Regions from separate parts of the Homo sapiens genome. Here regions 1, 2 and 4 are each linked to region 3. Evidence: promoter capture Hi-C in 16 types of primary human blood cells and fetal thymus (Javierre and others, 2016). All regions are on one chromosome and are shown on one strand. Each heading gives the region's core, a stretch centred on a gene start or on the middle of the fragment in contact. The rest is flanking DNA. Distances are from core to core; before and after follow the strand shown.

The links. Contacts are between HindIII fragments. The CHiCAGO score rates a contact against its expected background, and 5 or more counts as called.
Region 1: a contact is called between a fragment that was not itself captured here and the fragment with the promoter of GPR85 in region 3, in 1 of 17 cell types (neutrophils). The highest score is 5.6, in neutrophils.
Region 2: a fragment that was not itself captured here is called in contact with the fragment with the promoter of GPR85 in region 3 in 1 of 17 cell types (endothelial precursors); the score reaches 5.9 in endothelial precursors.
Region 4: a fragment that was not itself captured here is called in contact with the fragment with the promoter of GPR85 in region 3 in 1 of 17 cell types (M1 macrophages); the score reaches 5.6 in M1 macrophages.

What each region holds. Positions count from the first base shown.
Region 1 is chr7:112,568,661-112,573,095 of GRCh38, reverse strand. No RefSeq gene overlaps it. Among named protein-coding and RNA genes, the nearest start is that of LINC03076, 47 kb to the left of the region's middle. The HindIII fragment of the contact is 3,313 bases long and covers 1-3,074 here.
Region 2 is chr7:113,701,111-113,705,480 of GRCh38, reverse strand. No RefSeq gene overlaps it. Among named protein-coding and RNA genes, the nearest start is that of PPP1R3A, 220 kb to the left of the region's middle. The HindIII fragment of the contact is 740 bases long and covers 2,386-3,125 here.
Region 3 is chr7:113,085,412-113,089,727 of GRCh38, reverse strand. It overlaps GPR85 (G protein-coupled receptor 85), which reads left to right and starts at 2,901. Exons shown (of 3, transcript NM_001146267.2): 1 at 2,901-3,406; 2 at 3,619-3,736. RefSeq lists a silencer at 3,156-3,215. The HindIII fragment of the contact is 6,967 bases long and covers 1-3,023 here.
Region 4 is chr7:112,514,047-112,518,551 of GRCh38, reverse strand. No RefSeq gene overlaps it. Among named protein-coding and RNA genes, the nearest start is that of LSMEM1, 35 kb to the right of the region's middle. The HindIII fragment of the contact is 214 bases long and covers 3,145-3,358 here.

The sequences.
Region 1 (4,435 bases), core at 169-2,668, 520 kb after region 3:
AGGTGTGTTTTAAGGACATCAAGATTTTCTAACAGCTTGATACAGCAGTTCCTGTGTAAATTCAGAAAAATATATGACTCTTTGTTTTCTCTCTTTTCCCATATAACATGAAAGAACGCATTTATCTGATCACTTTCAGGTGAGACTGGTACAGCAGCTAGTGATCCATAAAGATAGCTACTATGTACCTTGGCATGTTGCCAATATTGTCAGGCTTCCAACTCACAATATTTATAGACTTTAGAAGTCATGGTTCAATGTTCACCCAGGGCAACAATCTCTTGTAAGTTTTACATATTCTTTTGTGGGGCAGCATCAGATAGAACCTCAACTTCCTGTTAGGTGGCTTACTCCAAATTTAACAAGCCAAGCTCATCCAGTTCAAGGTGGAGCTTTTCTGGACTGAAGGTCTGAGCTATAGTTCTAGAAATTAATAATTTGGTGTGGGAAAAAGAAATGGAAGAGATCATCCAAGATATACAATAAAAAGAAAGGAAAGTTTGAAAGTGACAGAAGTATTTGATTTGTCAATAAGGAAGTAACAGGTGGCATTCAAGGGAAGGAGTGATGTCAATATCTGGACCAATAAAAGTTAATTAACCCCTGGTGAATTGAGGGATGATATAGATATCAGTCTTAGCCTGGACACTGGATGTATTTCACTTGCTCTTCCAGAACAAATTTATTCTCCACCCTGCTCTTCTCTGCTCTGTGCCTAGGGACTGGTTTGTTGATTAATTGCATCATGAGCAGTGCTGCCCTCTGGCTTACAGCTGAGTTCAGCCAATGGGAGGCACTAGTAGATCCAAGTGAAGAAGAGGAGGCGAGACTAGGGTATCTTTTTCTCTGGCTATTGTTTGGCTCTTTTCTTCTACCAAAGGCCACAACCCCCATCAGATCAATTCTGCTATAGCCTCTCTCTCTCTCTGCCTGTGTGTGTGTGTGTCTTCCATCTCTCATATATGTATATATCAGTTCTACTTCCTTCTCTTGCGGCCTCAGATCTAGGAGGTAATGACTCCCTTCCGTTGCTAGCTTTATCATTCCTTACAAGTTCCTTTTGACCTTGCCTACCCTGCCTACATCTTTGTAAATGGTCCTTTCATTGAACTCTTTCTGTTACTCGGTTTAAGTGGGCCATTTATTTCCTGTCTGGATCCTAACTGATACAGCCTGCCACAGACTGCATGCTTCTTACATTAGCATTGGAGAGTTAGCCTGACTTTCAGAGGTAGTTAAGACAATAACAATTGTTACTAAAAGTTAGATAGAAACTACAGTTCACTAAATGTATTCAGATGTTATCTCACTTCTCATTCTTTATCCATCATGATTAAAATGCAGATCTCGCCTGCTCTAATGGAATAATAATTATAGATGATAAATGTAAATATGGGTATTTACTACCAGATCCAAGTCTAAATCATATTCTTAAGAATTCAAGGGTGGGCATGGTGGCTTATGCCTGTAATGCCAGCACTTGGGAGGCCAAGGCAGATGGATCATCTGAGGTCAGGAGTTCAAGACCAGCATGGCCAACATGGTGAAACCCCATCTCTACTAAAAATACAAAATTAGCCAGGTATGTTGGTGCATGCCTGTAATCCCAGCTACTTGGGAGGCTGAGGCAGGAGAATCACTTGAACACGGGAGGTGGAGGTTGCAGTGAGCTGAGATCACACCACTGCACCCCAACCTGGGCAACGAGAGTGAAACTGTGTCTCAAAAAAAAAAAAAAAAAAAAAAAAGAATTGAGGAACCCAAATTTTGTATAGTCTTAAAGCTGAATGAATTAGAACTTCATTACATGAACTGGCTCTATTTCCTTCATCTGGACTCCAGATTCTTCAATTTCACTGATACTTATTTTTGAAACTTCATTTCTATTAGCAGATTTCTAAAGGCAGGGAAGGTGGGGTTTTGAGTCGGAAATTAATTATCAAGTAGATATTAAGACCATATTTTATAATGATAATTGAATCAATTAAGAGAAGTCTGCCAAACCAATTGTTTAGTGGCATATAGATAAATCAACCACCATAATGACTATTTTCCCTCTTTTTAACAACTCGTTTCTTTTTTATGTAGACATAACACAAATATCCTTATTGTGTAAGCAAAACATATGGAAAAAAATTTTTTAACTTTTGTAATTCTAAAAAAAACCAGCAAAGATAAAATATTTCTATAATAAACTTGATAATGAATTTCATAGGATACTCAATTCCCAAAATAAGTAACTCCATGATGAGTGTACACAAAATAGAGTTGAGAAATATGTGAAAATACAAATACAAAATATCTGAGCAGTTTGTGCCTTTATATGGTAAGGATGTTGTTGAGGGCCCAGAAGAAAGATTTCTGTGTTAAAATTCAGGGAGTTTGGGCCGGGCGCGGTGGCTCACACCTGTAATCCCAGCACTTTGGGAGGCTGAGGCAGGCAGATCATGAGGTCAGGAGATCAAGACCATTCTGGCTAAGACGGTGAAACCCCGTCTCTACTAAAAATACAAAAAAATTAGCTGCGTGTTGTGGCGGACACCTGTAGTCCCAGCTACTCAGGAGACTGAGGCAGGAGAATGGGGTGAACCCAGGAGGTAGAGCTTGCAGTGAGCCGAGATCACGCCACTGCACTCCAGCCTGGGCAACAGAGCGAGAACTCCATCTCAAAAAAAAAAAAAAAAATTCAGAGAGTTTGGTGGTCTTCCCTTTAAGGTAAGAGAAGGTGGAACTGAAAAAGTTAGAATGCAATTTATATTACTTCTGACACAGTGGGTTTCTTCCCTCATACCCAGAGAGCCAAAGGGCTTGAATCAGTGAATATCAAAAAGTGAAATATTCAGTGATTAAATGAGAAAATCCAGGTCTCCTTCTGATATATGTGTATCAAACAAAAAAATTACCCCCAAATAAATCACACACAATAAAGATCCTATCTCCTTTTAGGAGAGAAACTATCATCATTGGAAGATATATTTCAGATGTAAAATAATGAAATATATGACCTGCAGATATAACAGCATCAAAAGAACCTCAATTTCCTATAGAGTAGCTTGCCTCAAATTTAGGAAGCTTTTCCAATTCAACATAAAGCTTTCCTGACCAAATTCATTCAGTTTGAAATAAAGCTTTTCTGAACTAGAATGATACTTTGAACTATAGTTCTAGAAAGAAATAATTTGAAGGTGGGAAAAGGAGATGTAGGAGATCATTCAATATGTATAGTACAATAGAAAGAAGGGAAAGTGTGAGGGTAAAAGAAACATTTGTCAATAAGGAAGTAATTGGTAACATTCAAGGGTGTAGGCTTAGCAGTGGAGGAAGGCGTGTCCCAAACTATCCTAATGAGTGGACAGAAATAAAATGAAGATGGTAATCATAGCCTACAGAATGGAAAAATAAGTGGTTGAAAGAAGGAAAACAGTCATCATGTTTGATCTATATCAGCAGTCCCCAACCTTTTTAGCATTAGGGACCAGTTTCATGGAAGACAAAAATCCTTGAAATATTCTTTCAGGTATTTCATTTTTTATGGCCCCAGTTTGTATTGGGGGAGGGGGTGGGCGAAGGTTTGGGGATGAAACTGTTCCATTTCAGATCATCAGATATGAGTTAGATTCTCATAAGGAGCGCGCAACCTAGATCCTTCACATGCGCACTTCACAATAGGGCTCACGCTTCTGTGAGAATCAAGAATCTAATGCCGCCACTGATCTGACAGAAGGTGGAGTTCAGGCAGTAATGCTTGCTCACCCATTGCTCAACTCCTGCTGTGTGGCCCGGTTCCTAACAGGCCACGGACCAGTACCAGTCTGGAGCCATGGGTTGGGGACCCCTGATCTATATGGCATTTTAAACAACTGATTTGGCAGATTTCTACTCTTTTTTTTCTTTCTTTTTTTTTTTTTTTTTTTGAGACATGGTCTCTGTGGAGTGCAGTGGCACAATCACAGCTCATTGAAGCCTTAACCTCCTGGGTTCAAGTAATCCTCCCGCCTCAGCCTCCAGAGTAACTGGGACTACAGACCCATGCCACAATACCCATCTAATATATATATTATATATAAATATATATATATATATATATATATATATATATATTTTTTTTTTTTTTTTTTTTTTTTTTTTTTTTTGCCCAGGCTGGTTTCAAACTCCTGGGCTGAAGAGATCCTCCCACCACAGCCTCCCAAAGTGCTGGGATTACAAGTGTGAGCCATCATGCCCAGCCGATTTCTGCCCTTAATTGATTCAATTATTTTTAAATATGACCTTAGACATCTACCTGCTCATGATTAATTTCCAATCATTCAGAAAGTTTGCTTGTGAAAAGGAAAAATCCCTGTTTTGTGCTCCTTTACATCCCTGGGACCTAACAGCTAATGCCTGGCAAATGGGCTCTCAGACCTTGTCTATCCAGTCAGTACTAATTCAACCA
Region 2 (4,370 bases), core at 1,506-4,005, 620 kb before region 3:
GTACCTCACATAAATAGAATCTTAAAATATTTGTCCTTTGTTTCTGGCTTATTTCAGTTAGCATAAAGTCTTTGAGGTTCATTCATATTTTATCATGTATCAGTGCTTCATTCCTTTTTAATGTTGAGTTACATTCCATTGTAGGTGTATTAGGGTTCTCCAGAGAAACAGAACTAATTTCCATATTAAGAGATTTATTATAAGGAATTGGCTCACATGATTATGGAGGCTGGAAAGTCCAAAATCTGCAGTGTGGACTAGCATGCTTGAAACCCAAGAGCTAATGGTGTCGTTTCCACCCCAAGGCCAGCAGGTGGAGAGACAGGGGAGCTGATGGTATGCATGAACTCCGAAAGTAGTCTGCTGGAGAACTGCCTCTTGCTCCAGAAGGTCATTCTTTTTGTTTTATTCAGGACATCAGCTGGTTGGATAAGACAAACCCCCATTATGGAAGGCAATCTGCCAACTCAGAGTTTACCAATTTAAATGTTAATTTCATCCCCAAACATTCTCCAAGTTGACACATAGAATTAACCATCACCCGTCAAAAGTGGTCTACAAAGAACTTAAACAAATTTACAAGAAAAAATCAAACAACCCCATCAACAAGTGGGCAAAGGATATGAACAGACACTTTTCAAAAGAAGACATTTATGCAGCCAACAGACACATAAAAAAATGCTCATCATCACTGGTCATCAGAGAAATGCAAATCAAAACCACAATGAGATATCATCTCACACCAGTTAGAATGGCGATCATTAAAAAGTCAGGAAAGAGGTGCTGGAGAGGATGTGGAGAAATAGGAACGCTTTTACACTGATGGTGGGAGTGTAAACTAGTTCAACCATTGTGGAAGACAGTGTGGTGATTCCTCAAGGATCTAGAACTGGAAATACCATTTGACCCAGCCATCCCATTACTGGGTATATACCCAAAGGATTATAAATCATGCTGCTATAAAGACATGCACAAGTATGTTTATTGCAGCACTATTCACAATAGCAAAGGCTTGGAACCAACCCAAATGTCCATCAATGATAGACTGGATTAAGAAAATGTGGCACATATACACCATGGAATACTATGCAGCCATAAAAAAGGATGATTTCATGTCCTTTGTAGGGACATGGATGAAGCTGGAAACCATCATTCTGAGCAAACTATTGCAAGGACAGAAAACCAAACACCGCATGTTCTCACTCATAGGTGGAAACTGAACAATGACAACACTTGGACACAGGGCAGGGACCATCACACACCGGGACCTTTTGTGGGTTTGGGGGATGAGGGATGGGTGAGGGATAGCATTAGGAGAAATACCTAATGTAAATGACAAGTTAATGGGTGCAGCAAACCAACACGGCACATGCATACATATGTAACAAACCTGCACGTTGTGCACATGTACCCTAGAACTTAAGGTATAATAAAAATAAAAATAAAATAAAGTAATAAAAATAAAAACAAAAAAATTGATAAAATCTTTATGTGATATCATAACCCTTAAAATATTTTATATGTAATTGACAGTGCTCTTTAGTAACTATGAAAAAGCCCTTAATTGCTATATAATCTAATAAAGTGATTATGTCGATGGTTAAAAAAAAAAGAATTAACCATCACAGTAGGAATATATTGCATTGTGTTTATTGAATCATCAGTTGATGAACATTTTGGTTGTTCCTGCCTTTTTTTCCTATTGTGAATAAAGCTGCTATGAACATGGCACAAATATCTGCTTCTTGAGTCTCTGCTTTCAATTATTTTGAAGGTGAACTCAAAAGTAGATTTACTGGATCACGTGTTAATTCTATATTTAATTTTTTGAGAAACCTCCATACTGTTTTCCACAGAAGCTACACCATTTTAAATCCCAACCAACAGTGCATAAGAGTTTCAATTTCTGCACATCCTTGTCAATACTTGATATTTTCTGGTTTTGGTGTTTTTTTTGTTGTTGTTGTTGTTTGTTTGTTTTTAATCACCATTCTAGTGGGTGTGAAGTGTTATCTCATTGTGGTTCTGATTTTCATTTCCCTAATGATTAGTGATATTTGGCATCTTTCCTGGGCTTACTGGTCATTTGTTTATCTTTTTGGAGAAATGTCTATTCAAGTTCTTTGGCCATTTTAAAATCAGGTTGTTTTCTTCATTTTGAGTTGTAGTAGTTCTTTATATATTCTGAATATTAATTTTTTATCAGAGGTAAGATTTGCAAATATCTTTTCCTATTCTGTGGGTTGCATTTTTGCTCATTGAAAATGCCCTTTGATTCACAATAGTTTTTAATTTTGACAAGTCCAAATAATATAGTTTTTCCTTTGTTACCTATGCTTTTGATATCATATTCAAGAAATCTGCTAAATCCAATGTTATGAAGCTTCCTCCTATGTTTTTTTCTAAGCGTTTGGTAGCCTTTACTCTTAACATTTAGGTCTTTGATTCATTTTGAGTAATTTTTGTATGTGGTATAAGGTAAAGACCCAACTTTATTCTTTTACATGTAGATATTTAGTTTTCCCAGTGCCGTTTGTTGAAGAGACCATCCATTGCCTGGCTTGGTTTCTAGGAATTAAAAAATCAGGAATAAAAATAACCTGAGGTTTATTAGATTAAGTCAATTTCAACCGATAAAAGATTTAACTTCTCAATTATATAAAAAACGTAATTGCTTTCCTAAGTTAAAAACAATCATATAGATACAATTTAAATTAGCACCAGTTTTAAAATGAGCATTATACTTAAACTTCTGTCTTGTTCTAAAACAGCTATGGATAATATTCTGTATATGCTTTTCCAAGTTGTTGTTGTCAATTTCATATTTATATGAATAATCCTCATTTTTTTATTAGTTTTCAGAGGTTCATATTTTTAAACTTTTTTTTCCTGTTTATTCTTTTAACCTTTCAAGGTCAATTAGAACAGTTTTCTGGTTTAAACTGGTATACACTGAAACTCCTACCTTTAGATAATCTACAAAAATGCATTAGTGGGTTATACTCCCTATTCAGGGCTATTAACAAAGATGCTAAAGATCATTAGCTTAAGGGATAGATAATTCCTACTAGTAATGGATGTACAACTGCTCTCTATGCTGATAATATCTAGTTCTATCAGAAGCTTTTAAAAGACATAGATCAAAAGTCAAGGTTGCCCCAAATGTAAAGATTGGAGAGATGTGGATTGCTTAAGATTAATTAAATAAATTCACTCCTTAAATATTTATATATCAATCCCATTTAGGATGTGGAGCTTCAGTTAGACTTATTACCAGATTTTACCCCTCAAAGACTCTTACATGACAGTATTTGCTCTCCTGACTTTTTCTCAAAGGACAAAATAATTTGCCTTATTGTTAACAGTGGAGTTCCATTTTGGTTAAGAAAATACATTGTATCACTTGTGATCTGCCTTTTGCTATGCTTATTGATGGCAGTGTATTTGAAATTAGTGAAAAAAATGGAGACCTGAAATCGTGTACCTCATTTCAGCTGCTTAGATTTTGAAAAACACATTCAATAAGCTCCTACACAGGACTCCTCAAAGTTCATTTCAGTACAATCCACTTGCGTTTATGTTTCATAATAACCATGCTTTATGACAGTTAATAAAGGTTAAGTATATTTAGCCAAGAAAGTAAAGGGTTAGATGTGTGAATCTAACTCTGCAATTGAATAATGAGATCAGCAGTCAGAATTGGGGCAAAGTTTATTCATTCTAGTTAAAACAATTTTTGTAATACAGAGAGCAACTTAAAATTATACCAGTGCAATGATAGGTGAAACTTGCATCTCAAAGTCTTCAAGGGTGAGGATGGAAATGTATTTTGGGGGTGGTAGTGATCATATTTGCAACATTTCTATTATAGTGAAGAACTCAGCAAATGAGAAGCCATACATGCACTGTTTAGAAGTCAGCAATTCTATGTGATAAGCAAGGGGTTTGGCAACCTCAAAATTTTCTTTTAAATGTTATTTTAAAAATTAAACACAGAAAGCCAAAATCTTACTGTAAAATTCTAAGAAAAGTGAAAACTCATGCACATAAGATTCTGAAATATGTTGTAACCCCTCTGGGATCACTAAACAATATTAAATAAATCAGATATGTAGCTAGATTAATTCAGGTTATAGTGATTAACAGATAAAGTACATGAATATTAGGTTATAAAATTATTGGCATAAACTTATTAAAATATTTCAATAAAGTGGGATAAAAGCAAATTTGCAATTAGTGGTAATGAGTTCACAATTAGCTTTATTATGAGGATGCTAAAATGCACTAGAAAGGCAATGTAATGCAATGAAATACTGATACAGGGACTCCCTGACTTACTGAATGAATTTAAATGAAATCTGATAGGCAGA
Region 3 (4,316 bases), core at 1,652-4,151:
AAACCATAAAAACCCTAGAAGAAAACCTAGGCAATACCATTCAGGACATAGGCATGGGCAAGGACTTCATGTCTAAAACACCAAAAGCAATGGCAACAAAAGCCAAAATTGACAAATGGGATCTAGTTAAACTAAAGAGCTTCTGCACAGCAAAAGACACTACCATCAGAGTGAACAGGCAACCTACAAAATGGGAGAAAATTTTCGCAACCTACTCATCTGACAAAGGGCTAATATCCAGAATCTACAATGAGCTCAAACAAATTTACAAGAAAAAAACAAACAACCCCATCAAAAAGATAGTTAAAGTTTTAAAGAAAACTTTAAAAAGGCTCTTTTTCATATACAACTTTAAATTTTGGTAACAGTTGAGAGCACCAAAGACACACGTTTTATGCTTTAAGCAGAAGACATGTCATTTGAAATGAATTACTAAAAATCTTTTATTTAGAATGTTTATTCTAGTCTATTATTCTCTGCAATTACCAAGTGTTATTTCCTGACACACACTTTCATGTAAACAATGCACAGAAAAAAACACTGTTTTTGCTGATCATGATACTATGCATCAGTTGGCAAAAATCTGAAATAGATTAATTTTGAAAGCAAGGTCATTGGTTTTTAAAATAAAATGGTATGTACTTTTTATAAGAACCAAATTAAGCAAATTATATCAGTTTTCCTAATACACTGATCAATATAGTACATGTAATATTCCAACAGTTTGTAAATCTTCAGAACCCTTCAAACCCAAGGATTAGAGCATATAGTTTTGTTGTATTTGCTTTGTTCTTTTACTCTTAACCTGAAAATCAAATTTTCTGGGTTTGGTGATGTAGGGGATAAAAAAAAAAGAAATTAGTTAAGACCAACTAAGCCTATGATCTAAACAATTTGAAGCAATAACTTTACATTTGAGAACTTGTAGATGATATGAAACTTTTGTCAGCTATTAAACATATTTTTTAAAGCCCTGCTGATGAAAGATGTAGCTTCCAATGTTTTCTCCAGTAGAGTTAATGAGCTAGATAGAAAATATCTCATTAATTTCTTGAGTCCCCTTGTGAGGCAAGAAAATGACATTCTTATCCAACAGCTGGAAAAGCTGAAGAATTAGTGGATGTAACTGTGCTCAACTGCAAAGGAAAAAAATAGCTTTACTATACCCTGAGATGTGGATATGAAAGAATATTGCATACACATATACCCTCTCCCTTATTTTTAAGGAATCAATATCTGCTTAAAGAATAAGACTAGTTAAAACCCTTGGATCTTGGCCCTATAACTTTTGGCAGAGTATATTACTGCTTCATGGCCTGGCAGTGCAGTGACTCTTTTAATTTACTTTAAAATAGCTTTTCCCTAATCTGTACAACCTAACATCTGACCAATCATGAATCTTCAGCAAACTTAAGCCTCTTATTCCATACATTTTTTAAAACTGTAAAAATTCAGGAAATAACTCTTTGCAAAGTACATTGAAGCATTTATTGGGAAGCAAAAAAGCACAAGTTGAAGTGATTTGTAGTTTCATAAAAACGAATTTGACATTTTACTTAGAAGTTGCAAACCACCACATGGTTTTGAGTTTTGAATTCATTTGCTTTGCAAAAAGTGGAATGTTTTATTTGAATGGAAATGCCCTCAAGTTACTTCCAGCATGGCTGTAGGATTGATTTTTCTAGGTTAAGGGAATGCCAAAGTTTAGTGCCTTGTGTATATTCTTTTCGAAAAAAACAAACTATTATCCATGTATTTAAATGGACGTAGGAAATTCAAGAACAAATCAGGGAAATTTAACATCATTTCAGTATTACCAACATAGGGCTTTGTGTAACGACTGTGACATCAAGATAAGGCTTTACCTCGGCTCATCCAATAGAAATACAGTATGTAAATTAACCCATATTATCTGTATGCTGATTGGCCTGAGTTCCCCTGAATGTCACAATCTCACCACCCAGCAATGAGGTATTTTACTGCTGTCTCAAGATCAGATTATTACTGTAGAGAAGATTTTTATTTTTTGTTTCATTAACAGATTATTATAAAGCAAAAAGCATGCAGAAAAAGAAGCAGACGTTTTACATTGGGAATTAATGAAAGCGTGTCTGCTAGTTTTGGGTAGGAGAACTGGGAAGTTGTTGCTTAAAATTTTATATCACCTCCACAAACAAAACTCTTCGGAAATGGTAAAATAAGAAAATGCATGATTCTAGAGGCATTCCTAAGCACCCACGTGTCAGGCTTTGTGGTGTCTGTGGTATCATCCGACCGTTTGGACTGGTGTAAGTTTTACGTATTTGTTATATTTCTAGTATTTTTCATCTGTAATAACAAAGGGGAAAAAAGGAAACTCGTACACATAACTGCTTTGACATCACCCATCATTGGTCAGCGGAACTTGTAAGAAGGGAAAAGGAATACTGTTGCTTGGTGGGGTGGAATGCCAGGAATAGCCATTTAAACATTTTATAAGCCTGATTCTTTAGTGACATCCTTTAAGGTAGACTGAATGTAAATCATATTGTAGTTGTCCTCTGAACTTAGCTTTCTCCCTACTTTTACGCATATTTGCGTGCATTGGAGAATAGAAGATGACTAACAAAGAGAGAGCTGCCCTAACGTGCCTTCCCTTCTTCCCCATTGAAAAGATTTTTAACTGTGGGAAAAAGATAAATAAATAAATAAATAACTTTTTTTCTTTTTTCCCATTCTTTTCTTGTCTTTTTCCAGCTAACCTGCAAATTTAAAGGTTAGCTGGAGACATCACTTAAAAATAAATATATAAAAGAAGCCTCCGGTGGTTTGGACCACCCTAAAAGAAAAGGGAAGAAAGTGTCTGGGGAAGGTTAGGGTTCCGGGAAGCTGAGGGAGGGGGCGGGCGTCACGGGCACTGTGACTTCCTCGTGCGCTGCCTTTGGGAAGAGGATGGGCCTGAGGTCCTGAAAGGGCCTTTCCAGCCCCCCACTACAAATGCGGGGAGGGAAAAGTTCAGAAGCAGCCACGAAGGGACAAAAGCTTAATGCTGCCAGTTGGATTGGACAGGGCAGTCAATAAACCCAGCCAGCTCTGGAGTCAGGTAGGGGTTCCTGCTGGTTCCACAGAGGCTGAAGCAGCCCCGCCGCCGCCCTCGCCACCGCAGCCGCCGCCGCCGCGGCCCCTGCGTTACTGGGGGAGACGGTGCCGCTGCGACAGGGGAGGACGCGGCTGGAGCTCAAGGAGGCTCCAGCGCGCAGGCGCCGCCGAGCCCTGCCTGGATGCTCAGTCAAGGCACTAAGGCAAAAAAAAAAAAAAAAAAAACAAAAAACAAAAAAAAAAAAAAAAAAAAGAAAAAGAAAAAAAGAAAAAAATCAGCAATTTATAGAAAGAAGCTATAGTCTGTCGGGATATCCAACACCAACAGGTAGGAGGATATACTCTTGGTTAAGTTTGGGGGATGTGGGGGAATGCACAGTGTTGATGAAACTGCAGGTTCACCGAGAAAGAGCCCTCCCTCAGGTTGTGTGTGTGTGTGTGTGTGTGTGTGTCTCTGTGTGTGTGTGTGTGTGTGTGTGTGTATGTGTTTTGTGACAATAAACTGCATAATGGAAGTACATTCAGACAATGCATCTTCAGTAGGGCTTACTGAGAGCTCCATTTCTGGAAAGCCTTACAAGACTGAGGAATATCAGACTGCGAATCACCGGGAACGGTTCCTTTGCAGCACAGAAGCAATCTCTCTCCCCATCTTCGCGTATGTAATGCATGTCTCTCTCCCTCTCCCCCTCCTCCACCCTCCCCCCATTATAAATCCAGGGGTGGCGGATTTCAGGTTTCGTAATGTTGCATGATGCGATCGGTATTTACCCGAGGATGTACCGGTGGGGAAATTAAAATCATCGAACGCAGTTTTGCCTGGGCTTCCACCAGCATATTCCGGGCCAGTGAGAAGTGGCAAAAGAAACACGCTTGGTGGGAATAACAGAGGAAGCCGATTTCCCTGGTGTGGTCCAGGCACCTGCGAGACAATGTGCATTTTGTTTTAAAAAGCAGCCACTTGTGATTTGCAACAAAGGTTATCAGTGTAAATGGGAAAGGCTTAATTGCCCAAGAAATACAGGTTCATGTTATATTCATTTGAATCCAGGCAGCCAAGGTTTACAAATGGAAGTGCATTATTCCTCTGGGTGTGTTTCCCTGTCCAATATTTACATTAACCATTTTAATAATCATGTGGGCTTAAAAGATTTGCCAGAAATGGGGGGTAGGGTGGAGAGGGAAAGACAAATGATTAAATCACATCAAATCTTGGGACAAGTAAGTTCCTATTAATT
Region 4 (4,505 bases), core at 2,002-4,501, 570 kb after region 3:
AAAAATGTTAACAGTTTCTCAGTCACACTATCCACATTTCAAGTGCTTGATAGCCATGTGTAGCTCACACATACCACATCAGACAGTGCATATCTGGAACATTTGGTGAACAGCACTGATTTCGATTATGAAGAGTTCCTCACTTTTGTTACCAATGAATCCCTCAGAGCCAGCATTTTTTAGAAGAACGCAATTGTGATATGTGAGTGTGATCCTCATTTTTCCAGAGGATATCAGTCTTGATGGAGAAGATTAGGGAGGCGCAATGAAAAACTCAGCTAAGAAAGTCAGTGGTCGGCCAGGTGCAGTGACTCACGGCTGTAATCCCAGCACTTTAGGAGGCTGAGGCGGGCAGATCATCTGAGGTCAGGAGTTTGAGACCAGCCTGACCAACATGGTAAAACCCCATCTCTACTAAAAATGCAAAAATTAGCTGGGCATGGTGGTGAGTGCCTGTAACCCCAGCTACTTGGGAGGCTGAGGCAGGAGAATCGCTTGAATCCGGGAGACAGAGGTTGCAGTGAACCAAGATTGTGCCATTGCACTCCAGCCTGGGCGATAGAGCGAGACTCCATCTCAAAAAGAAAAAGAGAGAAAGAAAGAAAAAAGAAAAAGAAAAGAAAAGAAAGAAAATCAGTAGTCTAGAACTTTAAGCTCAAATGTCTCCCTCATTTTTCTACACGGAGTCTTAGGCATCCCATGCTCCAACTCTGTTGAAGTTCCCCTCCTGTTGCCCTTGAAATCCTCTCCTCTCACCACTTAACAGCCTTGTCCAGCCATCACCCCTTTACCACCACTGCTGCTGCTGGTGGTGTCAATTCTCACTGCCGTTGTCATTCTCACCACATATTCTGGCCACTCAGCATCTTTGAAACCCCCTTTTCTGCTCTTCGGCACTCCCACTTTATGAATCCATGCTTTCTTAAACTAGATGCCTTCCCCTTGCTAGTCTCCCTTGCAGTCTGTGTAGAAGCCTTTGACCTAGGCTCCACCAGTCAGGTGCATCCATGGGAGATTTCAGTTTGGGAGAAAGCAATACAATTAAAAGGCACCACCCAGGCACTATGTGATAGCATGCTGGTGAGGATGGCAGAGGGTGGCCACAGAGATGTTCTGCTTTCAGCGGGAGCAGGGGCAACGGTCTGAAGGTAGTGCCCCATGCTCAATGTCAGCAAGGCAAATCCCTGTCCTGGCTCAGCATGGCAGGAGGACCACCACCGGAACAACCCACTGATGTGACTTGCATCGTATTCCTGGCTATAAAACATCCAAAGCCCCATTCTGTGGCTTCTTGGAAATTCTGTGAGCTGTCTTTTAATATGTTCCTTTTCAGCTCAAATTAGCAAGAGTGGGTTCTGTCGCTTGTAAATGGCATCCATAGCAGAAATTCCTACCCAAGTTGGAACGAGTTCTCTTTATAGCATTTACCCACACACATTGATTATGTGGCTTGTGTCAGACTCTCTGCCAGGGACTGGAGATACAAACATATAGGGGATTTGTTCTCAAGGGGCTTAAAATTCAGGCAAAGAAACAGATCAGGACACCAATAAGGACTTTAAAATACTGTCGGTGGTCGTGACAGAAATACAAATGTGGCATCGTGGAGACCCAAAGGACAGGAAGGAGGAAAGCAAACTGGGGAAGTCTTTAAGGAGAAGATGGCTCTTGAACTCAGTTGTCAAAGATAAACAGGTGTTTGACAGGCAGACAATAGGACAAAGGAAAGGAAAAAGCATGCAGCAGGGGGAGCAGGCTGCTTCAGTCTTCCTTGTTCTGGAAGGAATGGTTGAAGCGTGTGGTCAGATGGGGACAGGAAGAGTCCGGGCAGCAACAACAAGGCCAGAGAAACCATGAAAACAATAGTGTCATTTGAGTGCCTACTGTGTAGGTTGTTCTAACCATTTTACATTGTATTAACTCATTCATGCCTCATTACAACACTAGGAAGTGGATGACTAAATCAGCCTTACATGATAAAACACTAAGGCAGGCTGGGTGTGGTGGCTCACACCTGTAATCCCAGCACTTTGGGAAACTGAGGCGGGTGGATCACCTGAGGTCAGGAGTTTAAGACCAGCCTGGCCAGCATGGTGAAACCCCGTCTCTACTAAAAATACAATAATCAGCCGGGTGTGGTGGCAGGCGCCTGTAGTCCCAGCTACTCTGGAGGCTGAGGCAGGAGAATCGCTTGAACCCAGGAGGCAGAGGTTACAATGAGCCGAGATTGTGCCACTGCACTCCAGCCTGGGCAAAAGAGCGAGACTCTACCTCAAAAAACATAACATAAAAAATAAAACATTAAGGCAGAGAGAAGACTTGCCTGGGATACAAACACCTAGGGGGCAGCAGAAGAAAGGTTTTACCCTGCGATACAGCTCTAGAGTCCATACTTTTAACCACCCATGCTACTACAGCCAGTTGGGAACCAGTGCAGGGCGTCTTTATATTCCATTCTAAGGAGTTTGGACTTGACCTTCTAGCAGTGCTAAAAGGGTTTTGTTTTGTTTTTTAACTTTTAAGTTCAGGAGTACATGTGCAAGTTTGTTATATAAATTGTGTGTCATGGGGTTTTGGTGTGCAGATGATTTCGTCACCCAGGTAATCAGCATAGTACCCAGCAGGTAGTTTTTCGATCCTCACCCTCTTCCCATCCTCCACCCTCAAATAGACCCTGGTATCTGTTGTTTCCTTGTTTATGTCCATGTGTACTCAATGTTTACTTCCCACTTACAAGTAAGAACGTGTGGTATTTGGTTTTCTGTTCCTGTGTTAGTTTGCTAAGGATAATGCTCTCCAGCTCTATCCATGTTGCTGCAAAGAACATGATCTCGCTCTTTTTTGTAGTTTCATGGTATTCCTTGGTGTATATGTACCACCTTTCCTTTATCCAGTCTACTGTTGTAGGGCATTTAGGTTAATTCCTTATCTTTGCTATTATGAATAGTACACTAAAAGCTTTTAAGCAGGTGAGTGGAATGATCAGACTTGTGTTTTAGGAAAAACGCAAGGTATTTACAGAACAAGGCAGCCTGAGTATGGGTAGCTAAGCAGGAAGACCTGACTCTACTTCCCACGATGCACACACACACATACCTCCTCCTGGAGCCTGCCACACAAACCAGGACAACAAAAAGGAAAGCTTTTGGGAAAGGGATTCAAAACCAAGGAAGAAACAGCAACTCTTAGCAGAATATCTCACAACAGACTTGGGGCACAACCATAGTTCCCAACTTAGCAGCTTTGTGACCCTAGGCAAATTATTAGGTTGATGCAAAAGTAATTGCGATTTTTGCCATTGAAAGTAATGGCAAAAACTGCAATTTTGCACCAACCTAATACTTCACTGATTTAAGCTTCATTTTTTTTCTGTGAAAGTGGAGAAACAGAATGAAAATCCCTATTCCCAAACTCTGGGAGGAGGTCAGACGTGTTTTCAGAATTCAGATTTCTGGATGATAGAACAGTAGCATGGTGTATATGCCATGTATTATGTAACACACCCAGTGAGCTCTGATGCACTCCTCTATAATCAAATTCATTAATATTTCTGCAGCAAAACATGAATATTTACAACAGGTGGGATAAATCAAAACTAGAAAAAGTCTCACATAAGTTCTAGTTAGGTTTTGCTGTCAAAAGATTTCAGGTCAGGTTCATTTCACATTCAAATGAATTATGAAAAGCTTGAGGCTTTCAAAGATTTTTGGGTTTCCAAATTGTAAATAAGGGATTGTGCCCCTCTTATTATACTATTGCTTTAGAGCTGTTATAAGAATTAAGTGAGATAATGCATATAAAGCACTTAGGTCCTGCTATCCCTCCCAACTGTCAACGAATGTGACCCAGGATCCCAGCTATAGAGCCCATGTGCCTCAACTCTGCCATTTCAAAAAGAGTTCAACTGGAGCCGTTTTCATCCCCTCTTTTGATCGTGGCTTCTAATCTTTACTGTCTGTGAGCCCTACCACCGATCATAATGCTTCCTCCATCATTTTTCTTGGGAATTCTAGCAAGTTGTCATGCAGTCGGGCCCCTCATGAAGTCCCCAGGTTCCTAAGGTGGGTGCTATAGACCAGCCCACTCCACGTGCCTCGATGCACAGGCCTGTCTCCAGGACCATTCCCGGGAGGTGTGGAGCTATGGCAAATCACTGTGAGGGAACTTCCTTGCATCCATGATATTTTTGAAAGCAAAATGTTGCTAAAACCAGGAAAAGTGATCATTACATTTTACTAAATATGGGAAAGACATACCAGGGGAATCACACAGAATTTCAGCCAGGCAGCGTTCAGCAAGGAAACATTTATTGACTGTGTTTCAGGCATGACGCTGCTAGGCCACCTGCCCCACCCTTAAGGACAGCACAATTTCTATCCCTTCTTCTCCAACCCTCCATTATACTCCTTTATCTCTATCAGAGTTTTGCTGAAATCAGTATCACCATCATCATCATCCTTCCATGAATACAGTACTTTAAAACTTACTTAGGACTCACACACACA